Linked DNA regions of Homo sapiens: all the other regions are linked to region 3. Evidence: promoter capture Hi-C in 16 types of primary human blood cells and fetal thymus (Javierre and others, 2016). All regions are on one chromosome and are shown on one strand. Each heading gives the region's core, a stretch centred on a gene start or on the middle of the fragment in contact. The rest is flanking DNA. Distances are from core to core; before and after follow the strand shown.

The links. The method cuts DNA at HindIII sites, captures the fragments that hold promoters and counts their contacts. A CHiCAGO score of 5 or more calls a contact.
Region 1: the fragment with the promoter of EOGT here is called in contact with a fragment that was not itself captured in region 3 in 1 of 17 cell types (activated CD4 T cells); the score reaches 10.2 in activated CD4 T cells.
Region 2: a contact is called between the fragment with the promoter of MITF here and a fragment that was not itself captured in region 3, in 1 of 17 cell types (monocytes). The highest score is 6.2, in monocytes.

What each region holds. Positions count from the first base shown.
Region 1 is chr3:69,010,522-69,014,987 of GRCh38, reverse strand. EOGT (EGF domain specific O-linked N-acetylglucosamine transferase) reads left to right here and starts at 1,304. Exons shown (of 18, transcript NM_001278689.2): 1 at 1,304-1,414; 2 at 2,189-2,473; 3 at 2,997-3,052. EOGT-DT (EOGT divergent transcript) reads right to left here and starts at 1,868. Exons shown (of 1, transcript NR_185971.1): 1 at 1-1,868. RefSeq lists silencers at 1,077-1,376, 1,437-1,986. The HindIII fragment of the contact is 3,596 bases long and covers 1-3,026 here.
Region 2 is chr3:69,736,827-69,740,926 of GRCh38, reverse strand. MITF (melanocyte inducing transcription factor) reads right to left here and starts at 1,463. Exons shown (of 10, transcript NM_001354604.2): 1 at 1,226-1,463. The coding sequence starts at 1,329. RefSeq lists a silencer at 1,228-1,527 and a promoter at 1,327-3,669. The HindIII fragment of the contact is 10,451 bases long and covers 1-4,100 here.
Region 3 is chr3:69,422,789-69,427,307 of GRCh38, reverse strand. It overlaps a transcript of FRMD4B not described here. Among named protein-coding and RNA genes, the nearest start is that of FRMD4B, 39 kb to the right of the region's middle. The HindIII fragment of the contact is 1,887 bases long and covers 1,385-3,271 here.

The DNA of each region.
Region 1 (4,466 bases), core at 55-2,554, 410 kb after region 3:
TCTTTCATGGCCATCTTGGTTTTGGTGGGATTTAGCCGGCTTATTTACTGCAACCTGTTTTATCAACAAGGTCTTTATGACCTGTATCTTGTGCCGACTTCCTATCTCATTCTGCGACTTAGAATGCTTTAACGGCCTGGGAATGCAGCCCAGTAGGTTTCAGCCTCATTTTACTCAGCTCCTATTTAAGATGGAGTTGCTCCGGTTCACATGCCTCTTGACAGTTCCCTTAGAGGCAAAATCTTTTCAATAAAAAGAATAAATTAATACTGTAAAGTGCTTTAAAACAATGTTTGGCACATGTTAAACACCACATGTTCTTGCTGTTATTATTTGAAAAAAATTCCAGGTAAGATTCCTAATTTAGCAGGTCACTAATGGAACTTGTAACAATTCTTAAACAACATTACTTTTAAAAATTACGTAAAAAGCATGTAAGCCTTTGGAAACAAACTTGTTTCCTTATGATCATATTATTTAACTTCTGGTGACTATATTCATTTGAGCATGTTTATTTTGAAGTCATCACCTTCATATAATCAGTTCAACTTTAGTCACTATTTAATGATCAACTCTACTGTGCTGTAGATGGAATACTAGGCCTGGGGGAGCTTAGAGGAAAAGACAGTGGGGGATGGGAGTTCAAATAATTATAAGCAGTAATAAAGTAAATTAACAAAACCATAAAAATTAAACTCCACAGAGTAGCATTTGAACTTGATGAGTTTACGGATAGGTAAAACTATACTGCTTTTAAAATGTGTGTGGACTCCAAAGTATCCTCACCATCACAAAGTGTATTCGGTGAACGATGTTCAGTCCCCAAATTTGGAAGTTAGGGCGGCAACTTCTGCTTGAAATAAGACAAAAGTAAAAATCCACCTCAGTGCAACGCAGAAGACACGAAGAGTCAGGTTTTCTACCCACCCCGTCCTAACATCCTCTGAGCGCTTTAACGCTCTCGCTCAAGGAGGCGCGGGCTGCTGCGATGGAGATGGGCGTCCGGCGCCGGCACGTGCCGTCGGTCTTTCCGGCCCTGGTGAGGGAGCTGGCGGACTCGCGCGAACGTTCGCGGGAGAACGCCAGGAAGGGCAGATGGTTCCTCGACTCTGAGCCCCTCCCTGCTGCGCTCGCCGGGTCGAGGCCGCTCGCCGGGCTGAAGCCGCTCCGAGCGTCGGGCCCCGCGCCCTGGCCCTCCTGGGTGTAGTCCCGGTCCTGCCTCTGCGGGGCCCGAGCCCGCCCACGGCGCCGGCTGGCCAAGGTGTCCCAGCTGCTCCTTGGCGCCCCCTGGCCCAGCTCCCGCGCCCGAGGTTTCCGGTGAGCGGCAGTAGCCGGTTATGACGACTCCCTCCTCTGGAACAGCCGCCGTCTCCTCCGCCTCCTCCTCGGTAGTTCACGGCTGCCCCGGCTCCAGGTGGGACTCCCCCGCAATCTGCGGAGCCTTCCCCCGCTCTCCTTCCCGCCGCCGCAGCGCTCTGCGCTGTTCTTGCCCGGGTGGTAGCCGCTCCCGGCGCGGCTTCCCGGAGGGCTATAGCCTACGCACGCACTCCGCCCGCGCCTTCCCATTCCCTGCGGGCCGGGAGGCGGGCGTCGGAAGCCGATCCTGGCCCTCCCCGGCCCCGGGCGCCCGGCCCCTTCCCAGCGCCCGGAGCGCAGGCGGGCCCCGGGCCCTAGCCGCGTTGACCAGGTTTCCAGCCGGGGCGGAGCCGCTCCCCGGGGCCCCTCCCAGGCGCGCTGGGGACCCGGGGCGCCGCGGTGCACGGTGGCGGGCGGCCCCGGGAGATCACCGACCCCGAAGCAATCCCTGGCGGCGCCCGGGGTCCGGAACCCCAGCGCGGCGTCTCAGCCGCGGCGGGGTGCTCGCCACTGACCCCTCAGCCCTTGGCCGGGACTGACGTTCAAGCGGACAGCTGGGCTCTGCCGGGACTGACGTTCAAGGGGCAGCCGAGCACTTCCTGAGCCCTGCCTGGCACCCGCCGAGAGACTTTTTGGCACAAGTAGGGGCCAGCCGTTGAGGTGTCATTCGGGGTCTCACGTGTTGAACTTTCCATTTGCCCACTGCCGTCTTTAAACTTTTCCAAGCTCTCTCTCTCTGCGACATTGCCCCATTTCGCCCGCTGTGTCAACCCCAGGTTTTGCCTCCTATCCATCATCTTTCAGATGTTTCCCTTTTTTCCTTCCTCATTAGGCCTGTGGAAATCGAATCAAGGGTTTCTGGAGTGGAGTGATTCCAGCTGCTTTGAGCTGAAGGAAAAGTAGCCTGGCCAGTAAAGCGTCCGTGTGCTGGAGGAGTGCAGCCACCCATCCCGGCGGGCCTTGCAGGACGACCGACACCAGGAAGGCTTTGTGCCAGGCCCAGCAGCCACCCCCAGCCGCCTTATGCAAGTGGGTACATGCCCTCGCCAGACGCCAGCTTTCTGATCTGCGTCTTTAGATTTTTTCCATCGCCTAAGCGTTACTTCTCCACTGATCGGTGAGTTTAGTGATGGCCAGAGCTCACTGGAGGACAATGGACTTGGATAACCAAAGGTCAGGGCTTGGTCATAACAATGACTTTATTACCGGGAAGGACGAGTCAAAAAATAGGAAGGCCTGGGAACCCTCAGGCTCGCCACTCTAGGTGGGTAGCCCTGTGATTCAGCCAGTGGGATTACTGCTGTGAGAATGGGAAAGTTGTTTGCTTCTGGGAATGTTTGATCCACTAAGTATCCTGTTGGCCAGTTCCAGTGGATGCCTGTAGAAAGTGGGCCACCTCCTCCCGTTCCCCATTGGAATCTGGTCCGAGTTGCTGTGTTGGGGGTGGTGCCTGTGAACTCGAGTATAGCAGTGTGGTATTCATTAAGGAAAAGAAAGCGCACCACCGGCCAGGCCTTCTGGCTGAGAGTTATCACGTTACATTATTTTCTTTCTTAATATTTCCTTTAATTCACAACATCATCTGAATGATCAGGTTTACTTTAGCATCCTTTTAAGGTAATATGTTTCATTTCTGACAGGTTTTAGAGACCTGAAACATCACAGAAGCTTCTGAGTGGTTCTGAAGATTCAAGAGGTATATATTTTTATTACAAGTAGAGTCATTGTTACTATTAATATGTGTTTTTAAATTTTTATAAAACTGCTGTCAACTCATTCTTGGATAAAAGCTCCAAGTGAAAATGTTATTGTAATTCAGATCAGATTTACAGCAGATAACACCATACTCTTGAGGGCCGCCAAAGTGAAAAACCACAATACTTAACTACTCCAAGGGGGGAAAATGGGGGAAAAAGGATTCCTTTTTGGTGTCCCCACTGTTCACTTAGAATTCCATGGCCTTGGAACTTGAGGTTTGATGGAACATAGCAGTCAATTTCCTTTTCTTCTTTCTTTCTTTGTTTTTTTTTTTTTTTGAGACAGAGTCTCCCTCGCATTACCCAGGCTGGAGTGCAGTGGCGAGATCACGACTCACTGCATCCTTGACTTCCCAGGCTAAAGTGATCCTCCCACTTCAGCTGGGACTACAGCTGATTTTTTGTATTCTTAGCAGAGACCGGGTTTCATCACGTTGCCCAAGCTGGTCTCGAACTCAGGGACTCAAGCAATCTGCCAGTCTTGGCCTCCCAAAGTGCTACTATTACAGGCCTGCAGTCTGTTTCTAAAGGTTCCATCTTCACAGCCCATAATCAATGAAGACTGATTTCGAAAGTTGGGTTTTCCGGTATGACCCAGGAAACAGCAGTCCTAGCTGATGAACATCCAGTGTGTATTAAGACTCTGTCATCCAGTGGAAAGAGCACTTAAAAAAAAAAAAAGAACAAAGATCCCACTAAAGTGACCTGAGAATGGCAGGATCATTGTCTGGGATATATAGGAGAAATCTGGTCCAAGAGATTTAACACTTACTGGGTGAATTAGAAATGCAGTGAGGTTTCTGACCATTATCACTGTTCACAATGTAAAGGCATGATGGGAGAGCTTAAGGGCACAGTCTTTGAGGCAGACTGCTTAGTGTCCTGGAGTTTCTAAGTCTTAGCTATTATAGCTGATTATTATACCTACTAGCATGTAAGCTTCACAAGGGCAATGAGTTTAGTTCGTGACTGCACCTTCATTGCTGTATCCTGAGTACAGAAGCGCTCCTGGAACATTGTCTGTGCTCATACCTTGATTATGATTATAATTTTTTATTCAGCAGACACACACTTGCTCAGAGCCATCCCACTCCCTTTGCTCTCTCACAGATACTTTTCCCCTCCTCATCATTCAGATCTCAGCTTTAATGTTATTTAGGCCCCTTCTCTGCCCCACATGGCTTTAAACTTTTATTTAATAAACATTTCCATAGCATTTAGCATGTGCCAGATAGTTTTCGAAACACTTTACCAATAACTAACTCATTTAACTCATGACAGCTCTATGATGAAGGTTTATTATTATTTCCATTTTACAGATGGGAAAGCTTAGGTGCAGAAAGGTTAAGTAAC
Region 2 (4,100 bases), core at 214-2,713, 310 kb before region 3:
CGCCAGAGGCCAAGATTACACCACTTGGCTCCCCGTTCAGTTGCCCTTCTCCACTCACCCTCATTTCAAGACCCTCTCCCACTCTGCCAGCCAGGCCCATTCACCCAGGCCCCATCCACAGCGAAGGGCAAGGCAGGAAGTTACAGCCGAGTGCAGAAGCCCTGCTGGATGCTTCCAATGATAGCCTTATCCTAGCTCACAGCTTAGAGGGGTGGAAATAAACCCTTCTCAGCTATTCCAGCCTCCATTGACCATGTCCCTTTTAGGAAACATTGTAAACGAGAAGTACGAGGCGTCCAGAGTGGCTGCCGGACAGAGAGAACGGAAGACACCCAATCCATTTCGACAGACAAGTGGGAATGGAGGCAGCAAAAAGGGTGGCTCAAGGGAAGTGGGCACTAGAGGGGATGGGGCATCAGAGCAGTGGATGTCTTCACTCCTCGTCTAAAAAGTTTCTGAAGTCCCCAGCGAATTAAACACGTGTCTCTGCCAAGCGGGGTACACTCCCAGTAACCCCCAAGACCAAGGCTCATTTCCCCTCTGCAGGTAAGGCCTGGATTTGAATGGGACTCTATTTCCAGAGAGTTTAACTTGAACAAGGGGACACGCCCACCGCTGCCCTGGCCCCTCCCGCGCCCGCTAGCAGCGGTCTGGAGGTGAGAGGCGGAGCCCAGAGAAACCTCACCTGCAGGAGCCCAGAGGCTAGTTTCCCCACAGAGACCGGACTCCCAAGAGGTGACTCCAAGCGAACTAATTGCTTCCCTCCAATGTCGCATCTCAGTCCACCCAAAGCTCTCCCTCTCCGAGCCCTCAACCCGCTGGGATCTTCAGAAAGGGGGTTCACTAGAACTCTTTCTCCCCCATCCCACCGGGACAGCGTCCCGGCCCGGCGCTCCTCCTCCCCCACATCGCGCCAGGTCGCTCCCCAGCCCCCAATCAGTCTCAGCAGCTGGCATCCTCGGCCGAGGGTCCCCGCGCCTGGACGCTTCGTCCCCGGCGACCCGCCGCGCCCCCGCGAAGTGCGCTCCATCCGAGCTTCCTAAAGGCGCACTTGGGCCGGGCAGGCGCGGCCCCCAACTGCGAGGGGCAGTTCGCCCTCTGCTCCGGGGCAAGGGCACTGGGTCCTTGTCCCAGAGCTCCCGCGACCCGCTCTCCTCGCCCCAGAGTGGCAGACGCAGTGCCCCCCAGCCGCCCGGTGCGCCTCTGCCCAGCTGTCACCACTCACCTGCTCTTCAGCGGTTGACTTTTGAGTTCGTAATAGGTTTTGGGCTCTTCATGAAACTCCTCCCCGACTTCGAAATCCGGCACGATCCCCGATTCGGACTGCATGGCTCCCGCTTCCCGTCCTTCCACTGCTGGAAAGTGAGAACAGAGCCCGGGGGCGGAGGGAAGGTAGCTGGGCCTGGGTCCCCCGAGCCGTGCGCCCCGGCGCAGTGCCGAGCTCTGCCCGCTCGCCGGCTCGCGGCCGCCCGCCCCAGCGCGGGGAGTTTACACTCGCACCCGGGCGGGAGGGGCTGGCGGCCGAGCGCCGCCTGGGATCTGTAGTTCGGCCCGGGCGGGGCATTCCCAGCTCGCCTGGGGAGCCGCTCCCACGAAAACTACAGCTCCCAGAAGGCCAGGCGGGGGAGAGGCAACGTGGTGGACACCGCTAGTGCAACTCCTGTTTGGATTCATTGTCAATGTCAGCAGCTCCTCTCCCTCCTCTCTCCCCACTTGCTTCAAGGGTACAGACTTGGCTACTTAATATGAATAAGAATGGACACTGACTGCTCTTCTACCATCGCCCCGACCTCTCAGCTCAGACATCTGCGAGGGCACGCCAAGTGCTTATTTTAAAAATAAAATAGTCAAGGGTTTTGGCACAAGAAAGTTTTAGCATTCGAGCCTGTCTTAAAATAAAAGGACTTCCTATCAGCTCGCATGCTTCCCTGGGCTGCTGCGACATATCAGCTTGTCCTCGGATTGGAACAACGAGGAAGAACTTTCCTTCGCTCTGTAATGAAAACGTTATTGGAGAAATTGTTCTTGTGCGTTCCTTTTCTAGAACTAAGTCTGGACTTTTACAATAGTATTCATCAGTTGAATGGCTCTTTCCCCTTTATCCAAGTAGCCACTTCTAATCTACAGCAGCAATTGAAAGATTCGGTTAATTTTAAAAGGCACAAAGTTACAAAATAGCGTCGTTGCTCTCTGCTTTTAATTTCTCAGTTGACTGGGAGTTCAAATGAGATTTGTCCTAGCATTTCAGGAGTGAAGATGTACAAGTGAACTGTACAAGTGTCCACCCCTTCCCGAGCTTCCCGGAACTCACTTAGGGAAGAGAATTTTAAAACTCTCCGTTGTGGCTCATTTGTACTTCTAGTTCTTCCCTCTGATTAGCTCCAGTAGGACGTGTTCCTTCTTTTCAAAAGTGTTTTGAGGCATCAGGGAGGCAGTATAGAGTTACAGTGGCATTTAAAGGTATAAGACTCAGAGTTGAAATCCCCAGTCCTTCTAAGAAGAGCTGTGCAATCCTGAGCATGTCACTTGGTTCCTAGAAGCCTCCATTTCTTCATCCATAAAAGAAGAGATTGGCAAACCAGTTTTAGAAGATGTTGCAAGGTCAAATGTAAGAGAAAGTGATTTGCAATCTATAAAAACTCTGCTCAGTGGTCATTCTTTATTAGGTCTTGAAGTTATTCCTTTCAGATTAACATCTCATTTTGGTGTTTGGCCTTTCAGAATTAATAAACTAAATGACTGTCCTAGGAGAAAATTCTAAAGAGGCTACAGTGACAACTGGGCACCTCCCAGGAGTTACCCCTTTGCATATCTTGCCTCCCACTGAAACATTTTAATTTCACATCAGAAAAGACATCCAGTAGGATGGATCGATGTTAGGGCTGGAGTTCTCAAGGTGATTTGGAAAAAGTGCAGAAGGCACACTATGTTGCAGTAGCAATTACCAAATTTTCAGAATAAAAATTAGTCCCCAACATACGACTTTTAGGCCCTCCCCTGAAACTATTAAACTATGTCAGAATACCTGAGAACACCCCTAAGGAAAGTGGGAGTTTTGTGCTCATAAAAGTGGGATCCTAGATTCCTTAATAGATGGACTGCTGGAAATTAGCTGTCAAAAGCAAACAAAGAAAACGTGTTTCCTTCATGTTCTCTGGGAGAGAAAGAAGAAAGATCAAACATGAAGGAAACATGCAGTCTAGACTTCTAATCTCATCTGGGCTCTCAATTATCAGTGCTTGGAATATGGGAGGAGGGGTTGTCATAATAACTTATGGATGTTACAGACGTTTAAGGGGTATGGGCCAGAGACACTACACATATTGCACAATAACAAATTTTCTTGTCCAAATTTCAGTGGTATGTATCCCCATTGAGAAACATGGGAAGCTGCCTAATCTTTGGGCTCACCAGAAGTTTTTTAATCTGAGGGAAGCTACGGATCCTCTTCTCAGAAAATACAGATAGAAACAAAACTGTGCATAATTTTGGTCAGCTGACCCACTGAAGGCTATCACAGACTTTATGTTACAACTGCAGTTTATAACTTCTTTAGATCTGCAGTGAAACAGTCTACCCATCACTTATTACATCAAATAGTGACCTTCCAGACCTAAGGGACTAACCTCAAAGGAAAGAAAACTCAGGAAAACCAAGACCTCCGAATTCATCTTCAACTAAGTACACCCGCAAGAGAGGTCTCCAGGGTGCAGACCTCTGAGCTGAGGTTGTCCTGAGGTTCACACAGATAGCTGTTATTTTTTTCTCCTATACCTTTTCTTCTGGTCTCATCCTACTCCTTGTTCAGGAAAACTTATTTTCCATTACATATGGCTGGGTTATCCATTACAGTGCAGTCTGCTACCCAGTGCATTCTGATTCCTTTAAGACTGGACAGGGGACCTTGAGATGACTAGAAGTCCTCCTTAGGACTTCTCTGCTAGGGCAATGGGAGAAGACTGTTTGCTTTGCTAGAAAGAAGAAAATCTGGAGCTACTTACCCATGGGCAATTAGGGAAGCTAATTTGAAATGGAAGAGAATGAGATAAGATCAACAAAAAGAAGAAGAGACAAGCAAAGATAAAGAATAGAAAAGTACG
Region 3 (4,519 bases), core at 1,079-3,578:
CAATATATTATAAATATATTATATAACATATAAATATATATTATATTTATATAGTATGTAATTGTTTCCCAGAGTTATTTTTACCACAGAGCCCTTCTCCCACAGAAAATATTGAGGGGTTAATGCTTCCTGGATCACTTTTTGGAAATCTTTGTATTAGGGATTTTCCAAATTTACCACCAGAGGTCAGTTTTCCCCTCCTTTTATATTCTGACTAAACACTGACAAAACTTAATTTTCTCTCAGCACACCTGAGACAGGCTGACATTTTTCAAGTAGACTTTGCTTAAAACTTTTAAGGGATGAGTGAAAGAAATAAAAAAATAAGAATCCCTATAAATAGTCACATTTCCAAAATCTATGAGGCTGAGCCAAAGAAATAGCAAATCTACCAAGCTCTGTTGTACCAGTATGGAGAACAAATTCTCAGCCATATTGCTTGGCTCTTTTTCCCTCCTGTTTCTCAGCCAAGTGGCCTTTCTGTCATCTCAGCCCCTAAGCGCATCTGTGGGCTTATCTTATTACATCTGAGGATAAATCCCATAGACCCTGTGTTTTCACGGTTAAAATTATTTTCTGATTTAAATATCCTGGGTCTGCAGTGTGATCTTTCCTCTCAGTCCTAGCTGGCAGCTCTGAGATAGCTCTGTGGTAATGAACAAATATGGCACTCCTGTGAATCTTCTAGTCCTAAGAAAAGCAACTATGCAGTTAATATGCTCCCCTCCTTTCCTCTGCCAGGACAGACATTATTAATCAACACAGCACCCTTTCTTTGTAGAACTCAGAACGGGTCTCACAATACTTCCTGAAACAGGGCTCCAGGCAGGCATTACCAATAGGTTGGTATTAACGTGAGAAAACTCTAAGGCTAAGTCGTAAATTCCTTCCACTTCTGGACTATTCTCTGTTGACTGTCTTTTGAATGTTAATCTCCGTAATCCTTTACCCAACACACACACATGCACACACACACACACACACACGCTTTTAAAAGTTTGTTTCAAATCCACAATAATGAAAACCTATTCATTACAGCCCCAGCATTTCCTTATTCATACCTTATCCTTAGCAAACTATATGGGTGCAACACCTGATTTAAAGAGAAGGGCTGTTACATCCCAGCATATGCCAGAAGCTCCACACTTAGCCCATTCTGTTGTTTAACTTTGGATTCCTATTGATAACATGGCATATGCCCTGTTTTAAAATTAGCACTTGCTTAGAGTTGCCTTTGTGTGAGGTATTTAGGAAATGGCCTGTGTTCTTGATCAATCTTTAGCAAAAGCTGTGGTATTAAAGCTATTAAAAGGCCTAACCTGTTATGGTAGACTTTGAAACTAATTATCACCTGACGGTTCATTTCTTTTTAATGCTGAAAGCTTATTTTAGCATTAAAGAATAAGAGGGTAATATAGTGTAGTCATTAAGCATACGCTCTGGAGTTAGATGAGGTTCAACTCTTGGCTCCCCCACTTACTTGGGCTTTGGGATCTTTGGAGAGTTACTAATTAATCCTTTTAAGTCTTCTGAAAAAAAAGATAAAAATAATACCTATCTTATTGTGGTGCTTTTATAAAACATTATTGTGCATCTACTTTGTACCAAGTGCAAAACATCACAGTGAGGATTGAATGAATTGGGAATTTACTTCACCTGGCATCAAGATGGAACTATTAATCTTTTAAAGCCCTTTTATGTTTCAGCTGAAGCCATCACGAAAGGTAGGGGCAAAAGAAGACATGCATGTTATTGAATTGCAGATCGATTAGAGATGAGATTTAGGTGGAGGCTGGCCAGCAGGGTCCATATTTAATTTCTCAGTTGTGCATTGGAAGTGAACTTTCCCCCATGGGCAGTAGGGTGTGCTGTGTGAACAGGATAACTACTTCTAGCACTAGTTTCAGGTGAGAGTGTCTCTCTTCACTTTTGGGGAGTGTGTTCGTGAACTAATGAGCAGCAAGTTCCACTTTGCTGTTAGTTCTCTAGCTTCTGTTTCTTGTGAACTTTAACTCCATGCACGTTTCTTATGGCAATAGAATTGATTAACATTTACTGCATGTCCTTTCTGGCCAATGCAGTGTTGAAATGAATTTACTGTGTAAGAAGGAGGTGACGCTAATACACTGGATATTGTTAAGAAGGCATCATGGAAATACTATATAAATTAACTACTGATAAGAGATAATAACACCATGAAAAACCATGGAAGAGATGAAAGCCTTTTAAAACACTAATAGCACATCACCTACCTTCCTATTTGCCTAAGTCACTGTCTGGCTGCAGAGAAGTAAGCAGAGGTAAAGTACATAAAAGCAGAGGGTTGCGGGTAGGTAGAAATAAAAGGCTGTTATAGTTCAAGTCCTAATTACCAAAGGCTAAAGATAAGGTCAACAGCACCTGTGATTTTTCTATATTACATCTATATAACTTGTTATTTAGAATCTTACATTCATTATTTTAGCTTTGCCTCTTGAAATCAGCTTCAGAATTACCTTCCTAAGCAAATTTTAAATTCATCTTTGAATTTTTAAAGAAGTTGCTTTTTTATTTAAATCCCATATTGGGATTTAAGGTAGTCAACATATATCTTACCTCAATTCTTTTGTCTTATAAAAGTAATTCTGTTTCTGCCAATCTAATAGGAGAAAAAATATCTCATTTGTTTAATATTTATTTCCGACTATCAGTGAAGGATTTTTGTATATTTATTGGCTGTTTGTGTTTCTTATGAAAATTGCTTATTCCCATCCCTCTTTGTCTGTGGATTTGCTTCTTATATTAGTAAGCTAAGAGAGAAACCACTCAGAAGTGACAGACTAAGGCACATGTGCCTTAATAATACAATCCTGGCTGTGCTGTGGCTTTCACCTGTAATCCTATCTCTTTGGGAGGCCAAAGCGGGAAGATCGCTTGAGTCCAGGAGTTCGATGCTGCAGTGAGCCATGATCACACCACTGCACTCCAGCCTGGGTGACAGAGTGAGACCTTGTCCTTTTAGTGTCAGTATACAGTCAGTTCTCATTATTTGAGGTAGTTATATTCAGTAAAGGCATCATGAACACCAAATTAGCAAATACTGAAACATCACACCTAGGGGGAAATAAGTTATGCTGCTATAAACCTCGTCACAACATTCTCATCAGCCAGTCAGTACATAACCTTGTTTTAAGTGTGTTTCTGTTTAAAGACACATTATTTAATATATGTAGTTGATTCATTAACATTGAACTCATATCAAAAGTACTATAATTCATGTTTGAATGAAGCTTATCTAAGACATTATTTTTTTTTAACAAGGACATTGCAGCTGCCTTCCACTTAGGAACTTTGTCCATTTGGGCTGCTGTTACGAAATACCATAAGCTGGGTAGCTTATAAACAACAGAAATGTATTTCTCACAGTTCTGGAGCCTGGGAAATTCACCATGAAGACACCAGGCCATTCAGTGTCAATGGATGAGGGTCCTGCTAATACCACTTGACAGTCCACTTGATTTGGTAGACCCTGATAAGGGTCCACTTTCTGGTTCATAAATGGCACCTTCTCATTGTGTCTTCACTTGGTAGAAGGGGTAAGGCAGCTCTCTGGGGCCTCTTTCATGAGGGCACTAATCCCGTTCATGAGGACTGTGTTCTCATGACCTAATCATGTCCCAGAGGCCCTATCTCCTATCATTCTGACACGGGTGATTAAGCTTCAAACTATTAATTTTGGAAATACACAAACATTCATACCACAGCTAATTTAGCAGTTCAGCACTATGCTTAGGGGGCATTTTAAACAGCAAAATCACCAACCAAAAGCACCAACATGTGTAAAACAGGTTGCTACATAGACTCTGAAAGGGACGTGTGTACCTAACATGAACTGAAACAAGAGGGCAGCGCTTTATTTTGTTATATCTCAGCTGAGAACAGGAGCATTGGGTGACTCAAATTTTTTGCTGTTCCCCACAAGTCAGAGAATGATTGCAAAAATACCTCGAGCAAAGGCTAAGTGTGGTGGCTCATGCCTGTAATTGCAGCGCTTTGGGAGGCCAAGGCGGGAGGATCACTTGAGCCCAGGAGTTTGAGGCTGCAGTGGGCTATGATTGTGCCACTGCACTACAGCCTGGGCAACAGAGCGAGATCCTGTCTCTATTTTTCAAAAAAGTACCTTGAGTATTGATTTTGGAGTTATGAATGAATTCTAACCAGTAGGCAAGTTTGAATTTTGTAAATAATGAGGACTGACTATATCAATAAATTTGTCTCACAAAAAAGGGCCCTTATGGTCCTTCCCTTCATTCCTGAACAACATTGGCTAACTATACAACTTACATGGGACTCATGCCCAGTGAGTCATATATATAAGTCAGAGCTCAGCAATCCCTGCCCTACAGTTCAGCAGTCTCTCCATCAGAGAACTTTCAGGACATAGGGGTCTGCAAGCTACTGCCTGTGGGCCAAATTCAGCACACTGCCTGTTTTGCTACCGTCCTGAGCTAAGAATGTTTTTTTTTTCCTTTTTCATTTT